Linked DNA regions of Homo sapiens: region 2 is linked to region 1. Evidence: promoter capture Hi-C in 16 types of primary human blood cells and fetal thymus (Javierre and others, 2016). All regions are on one chromosome and are shown on one strand. The core of a region is centred on a gene start or on the middle of the fragment in contact, and the rest is flanking DNA. Distances in the headings are between cores, read along the strand shown.

Evidence for each region. The method cuts DNA at HindIII sites, captures the fragments that hold promoters and counts their contacts. A CHiCAGO score of 5 or more calls a contact.
Region 2: a contact is called between a fragment that was not itself captured here and the fragment with the promoter of GJB2 in region 1, in 2 of 17 cell types (M1 macrophages and M0 macrophages). The highest score is 7.5, in M1 macrophages.

What each region holds. Positions count from the first base shown.
Region 1 is chr13:20,191,570-20,194,403 of GRCh38, reverse strand. GJB2 (gap junction protein beta 2) reads left to right here and starts at 1,466. Exons shown (of 2, transcript NM_004004.6): 1 at 1,466-1,621. The HindIII fragment of the contact is 5,188 bases long and covers 1-2,008 here.
Region 2 is chr13:20,403,984-20,406,817 of GRCh38, reverse strand. It overlaps CRYL1 (crystallin lambda 1), which reads left to right. Exons shown (of 8, transcript NM_015974.3): 7 at 2,077-2,183; 8 at 2,576-2,834. The coding sequence ends at 2,689. Among named protein-coding and RNA genes, the nearest start is that of MIR4499, 28 kb to the left of the region's middle. RefSeq lists an enhancer at 463-982. The HindIII fragment of the contact is 6,108 bases long and covers 1-2,834 here.

The sequences.
Region 1 (2,834 bases), core at 217-2,716:
TAGGTCGGCCCATGGCCACGGGGCGCCAATTTTTCAAGGAAAAGTCAATGCTAATAATGGTGGCAATCACGGGAAATCCATTCTGAGGCCAGATCTGACTTGTCAGGATTAATCATCATTTCCACTTAACTTCGAACTGACCTGGGTAAAAACGTGAGCGCGAGGGGACCAGGCTGCACCTCTGACCTGGCTCCCCTCTGCAAAAATCGCGAAGTGGGTGCCCGAGGTGGGGCGGGGGTTGGGGGAGACCTCCCCGGGAGTCCCCACCCAGCCTGCTCTGCACATCTTAGTCCCTCATCCGCTTGCGCTGTGCAAATCTGTCTTCTGTCATTTGTATCGCAAGACATCAAAATCCCCAACCAAATGCAAATACTGAGACCTCATAATCTGAGACAAAGTTTCACGGTATCCAGAAAGCCCCCAGCAGGTGTGCAGTGCAGAGCCAGCCCCCCAGCGGTCTTCCGCAGAATCCTATCAGTTTCCCCCTTTCGTGCTGTGTGCATCGAGCAGGAAGGGGCTTGGCAGGTTTTACCTGCCCTCTTTCCTTTCTGAAAAGTCTGGGCCTCCTCACCCCGAAAGGAGTCACCTCCTTGCAGTTCCCCAGTTGCGAAAAGAGGAGGAAGTTGGCTGGGCCGGGGGCCGCGGGGGGCACCCTCCGCAGATGGCGGGACCCCCCTGCCGGCCATGGCAAAAACGAGGCTTGTCTCTCCCACCGCCCCCAACCTTAGTCCTTGGCACATTGTTGAAAGTAATTGAATAAAATCGGAAATTCGAGAAGGCGTTCGTTCGGATTGGTGAGATTTTGAGGGGAGAAAGAAGCGGGGACTTCGCCGGCACCAGCGGCGCCCCCTCCTCGGCCACCGTTAACCCCCATTCCAGAGGGCACTGCCCCGCCACCCAGCCTAGGTCCCCCTGCGAGAGCCTCGCGGGCCCGCGCAGCCTCCGCGACTCGAACAGATCTTCAGTCCTTGGAGGAATGCCTGTTTCTCTAACAATAAAAAATTAAAGAAGCGCTCATAAATGCCAAGTCCTCTCGCACTATGCGGAGTACAGAGGACAACGACCACAGCCATCCCTGAACCCCGCCCACGGCACAGCGCCGGAGCCGGGGTCTGGGGCGCCGCTTCCTGGGGGGTCCCGACTCTCAGCCGCCCCCGCTTCACCCGGGCCGCCAAGGGGCTGGGGGAGGCGGCGCTCGGGGTAACCGGGGGAGACTCAGGGCGCTGGGGGCACTTGGGGAACTCATGGGGGCTCAAAGGAACTAGGAGATCGGGACCTCGAAGGGGACTTGGGGGGTTCGGGGCTTTCGGGGGCGGTCGGGGGTTCGCGGACCCGGGAAGCTCTGAGGACCCAGAGGCCGGGCGCGCTCCGCCCGCGGCGCCGCCCCCTCCGTAACTTTCCCAGTCTCCGAGGGAAGAGGCGGGGTGTGGGGTGCGGTTAAAAGGCGCCACGGCGGGAGACAGGTGTTGCGGCCCCGCAGCGCCCGCGCGCTCCTCTCCCCGACTCGGAGCCCCTCGGCGGCGCCCGGCCCAGGACCCGCCTAGGAGCGCAGGAGCCCCAGCGCAGAGACCCCAACGCCGAGACCCCCGCCCCGGCCCCGCCGCGCTTCCTCCCGACGCAGGTGAGCCCGCCGGCCCCGGACTGCCCGGCCAGGAACCTGGCGCGGGGAGGGACCGCGAGACCCAGAGCGGTTGCCCGGCCGCGTGGGTCTCGGGGAACCGGGGGGCTGGACCAACACACGTCCTTGGGCCGGGGGGCGGGGGCCGCCTTCTGGAGCGGGCGTTTCTGCGGCCGAGCTCCGGAGCTGGAATGGGGCGGCCGGGGAAGTGGACGCGATGGCACCGCCCGGGGTGCGAGTGGGGCCGGGCGCGCGCGGGAGGGGAAAAAGGCGCGGGCGAGCCGCCAGCGCGAGGTTTGTGGTGTCGCCGATGTCCCTTCGGGGTACTCTAGCGCAGCCGCCTGGCTACTTGACCCACTGCCACCAAACGTTTTAAATTCACCGAAAGCTTAGCTTCGAAGCAAAGCTCCGTTTCGCCGGTGAAGCAGGAAGCCTTCGCTGCAGGAACTGACCTTTACCTCTTGGAGCGGCTTCTGCAGAAAAATCCCCGGGCAGAGATTTGGGCGGAGTTTGCCTAGAACTAACGCGGAGCCAGCCGATCCCGGCCTACCCCGGGGCCAAGATTTCAGTGGCTTCCCTTTTTCCTAAACACTTCACGAGGGTCTGTTTCCGGGCTGTGCTCCCCGCCTAGAAGGAAAATTTTTAGGACCCTTGTTCGCGAAGAGGTGGTGTGCGGCTGAGACCCGCGTCCTCAGGACGGTTCCATCAGTGCCTCGATCCTGCCCCACTGGAGGAGGAAGGCAGCCCGAACAGCGCTCACCTAACTAACAGCTGCTGAGAGCTGGGTTCCGTGGCCATGCACCTGGGACTGCCTTGAGAAGCGTGGTACGGCCGTGTCCCCATGTGACCTTAGAGTCCCTTTCGAAACTGCTGTGCACAGTCGGTCACAATTTCAGACACTGGTGAGAAGGGTGGAGGAACCCTCTGGGGACAGCCAGGCAAGGTCGACCACCCATCACCTAAGGGTGGAGAAATTTAAGGGGTGAAGAGTCCCTTTTGCCTTTTCTGGATCCTGGTGATTCACCTAGTGTCTTCCCTAAGGAACTGAACCAACTCCTCCGCTGGCCTCTGGCAGCCCTCCAGGCGGTGCAGGATGGCGTGGGCCCGGTAGGAAGCTGCATGTAACCGCCCAGGGTCGGGAGGCCAGGAGGGCAGCTCCTCCTCTGACTTGAATATTGAAAACAACTTCGTCCTGCTTCTGAGCCCCTCTTAACCC
Region 2 (2,834 bases), core at 98-2,597, 210 kb before region 1:
GGGGGGATATGCAGCCACAGCAGCTCTTTCCATTTTCTTCTAATTTAATGTATTTTCAACTTGATTCTTGTGTCTCTGCCCTCCCCCACCCCAAAAGGAAGGAATAAACTGTATTTGTGTCTAGATTTTGTCTCCTTTAGTTTTAATAAATAAGCAACTAGCAAAAGTGAAGTAAATAATTTCCCAAATGAAATAAATGTGTAGGTTGTTTTCTGTTCTCCAGAAATGCTAAGCCATCTACAGTACGTATCCAGTGCTGGAAAGCTCAGGAGACTTCCAGAATTCTGCACTGCCAAATTAACACTTAGGTTAAATGAGATGACACCCCTTCTTTTATAAACAGAGTACCCATCCGTTAATTTCAGATGCTAATGTCAGAAAAGTTGGTATGTTTGAGTCTTTTACCCTTCAAAACCATTTTGGGGGAAATTTTAACACACTGAGAGAGAAGAACTATTTGAAGCAAATAAATTGCAACCCAATGATTTTAGGCTTTCAAATCAGCATAGGTCAATCAAAACTAAACCCCAAAGATGATGTTTGTTTATTTTTTGCTTTTTGAGCGTATCTAGTACCGATGGTTCGTATTTTAACTTAATCATCCACGGTTTTTGTGGGGAGTGGGAAGCTGAGCTGGGGCAGGCTCTGCACGTTCTGCAGCTTCGTTTGTCCCCATGTTACCTTTGTAGGCGGACTGACCAGCTGCTGAGCCTTTAAGGGTTTGAAAGATGTGGGAAATGAGTCAGGGTCGCAGCAGTAGCCCAGCCTATGTCCTCCATGGCGCCCAGGACTAGAAACGCCTCCTCCTCCTCTTCCAGGATCCCGGCCCTGGCTTCTGACTTGACTTGCTAAGCACAGGCCGGCACCAGCCCGTTCGCCTCCCGGCAGCAGGGAGGGGAGGAATGTGAGGGAGAGTAAGTCTGCGGGGCCCAGCGGGTCGGGGCAGGCCAGTGCTGGGTGGGGGCCGTGACTGGCCTGCGCTTTCCCCTGGGCGCACCCCATTCTCGCACAGTCAGCCTAGCCCGTGCGGCTCCCTCCCTCTCCCTCCAGGATAAGCCTCTTCCTGCATCTCTTCACCAAAGTCCCAGGGCCCTCTCCTTAGAATCTGAGAAATCATGGCTCTCCAAGGCTGGGGAGCAGCAGGAGCGTGGGGAGCGTGCATGGGGGCTTGTGCAGATGAGCGCCTGGCTCCATCCACCCAAACCAGCAAGGTACAAGCCAACGTGAGCTCTCCAACCGGTGTTTCAAGTACCTGCAGCCTTGACCGTACCCAATACAGTGCTAACTGAGATCTGTGGTCTAACAGTGACATAAGTGACAGGTTTACCTGAGATCTGACATTTTTAATTCTTGGAAAATGCATTCAAACGTTGTACACAAATAACCTTGTACACCCATGGTTGGAGGAAACACTTGGTGACATTAGGACTTACTGTGATAGCCAACAAATCAGTGTGTGAACGCAGGCCAACCGGAGGGTCCCATGAGATGCACCAGCAGAGGTGGCATGCAAGGTCTGAGGGACCTGGCACTTTTTTTTTTTTTTTGAGACGGAGTCTCGCTCTGTTGCCCAGGCCGGAGTACAGTGGCGCGATCTCAGCCCACTGCAACCTCTGCCTCCCGGGTTCAAGCGATTCTTCTGCCTCAGCCTCCTGAGTAGCTGAGATTACAGGCACCTGCCACGCCACCTGACTGATTTTTGGTATTTTTAGTAGAGACGGGGTTTCACCATGTTGGCTAGGCTGCTCTTGAACTCTCAACCTCAGGTGATCTACCCGCCTTGGCCTCCCAAAGTGCTGGGATTACAGGCATGAGCTACCGGGCCCAGCCAGGACCAGCACTTTTTGGCATTCGAACCCCCAGGAGCCAGCGTGGACAGTGCGTAATGGGGAGGGTCGCTTCTCCAGTGCCAGCAGGCCCTTACACATGCCCCAGCTCTGTCTTGTCTTCACAGGGAGGGAAGAGTGTAGCTTATCTGACCCCAGGGTGAAACTCTCTGAATGCATTTCTGAGTTTGAATATAACTAAGAATGTTTTTTTCTGAGATTGTGGATTCTTGTCTTCATACAATTCCAGGTATGTTAAGCTACTGCGACAGATACAGCGAAGGCATAAAACATGTCCTACAGACTTTTGGACCCATTCCAGAGTTTTCCAGGGCCACTGCTGAGAAGGTTAACCAGGTATGTAACTTCTCTGCAACTCACTGCAGAGAAGCATGTTGGCTACCTGGAGCACTTGCTGCCCCTCACCTCTGCAGCGGGTGGGCCTGCCTCTGCAGCTGGAATCTTTACCCTTGATCTTGGTGGTTCCTCATTCATAACTTTGTTCATACTTCCATCGTGTCACCAGGACACCTTAAGGACAGGGTGACCAGTGAACTGGTAGCTCATTGTGACTTGTCTCTGAGGGACTGAGGTCTTTCAAGATTTGGAAAGCTGCTGTTCATTGAGGGTTTATTGCTTTTGTCTTTGAAAGCAGTTTCTGCACAGTTTGCATAAACAAGAGCAATAATTACACTCTTGATAAATTATTTCCTCTTTATTGTCCTTTTTTTTCCTTCTCCTTCTTGCAGGACATGTGCATGAAGGTCCCTGATGACCCGGAGCACTTAGCTGCCAGGAGGCAGTGGAGGGACGAGTGCCTCATGAGACTCGCCAAGTTGAAGAGTCAAGTGCAGCCCCAGTGAATTTCTTGTAATGCAGCTTCCACTCCTCTCATTGGAGGCCCTATTTGGGAACACTGCAAGCCCTTAATCAGCCCTCTGTGACATAGGTAGCAGCCCACGGAGATCCTAAGCTGGCTGTCTTGTGTGCAGCCTGAGTGGGGTGGTG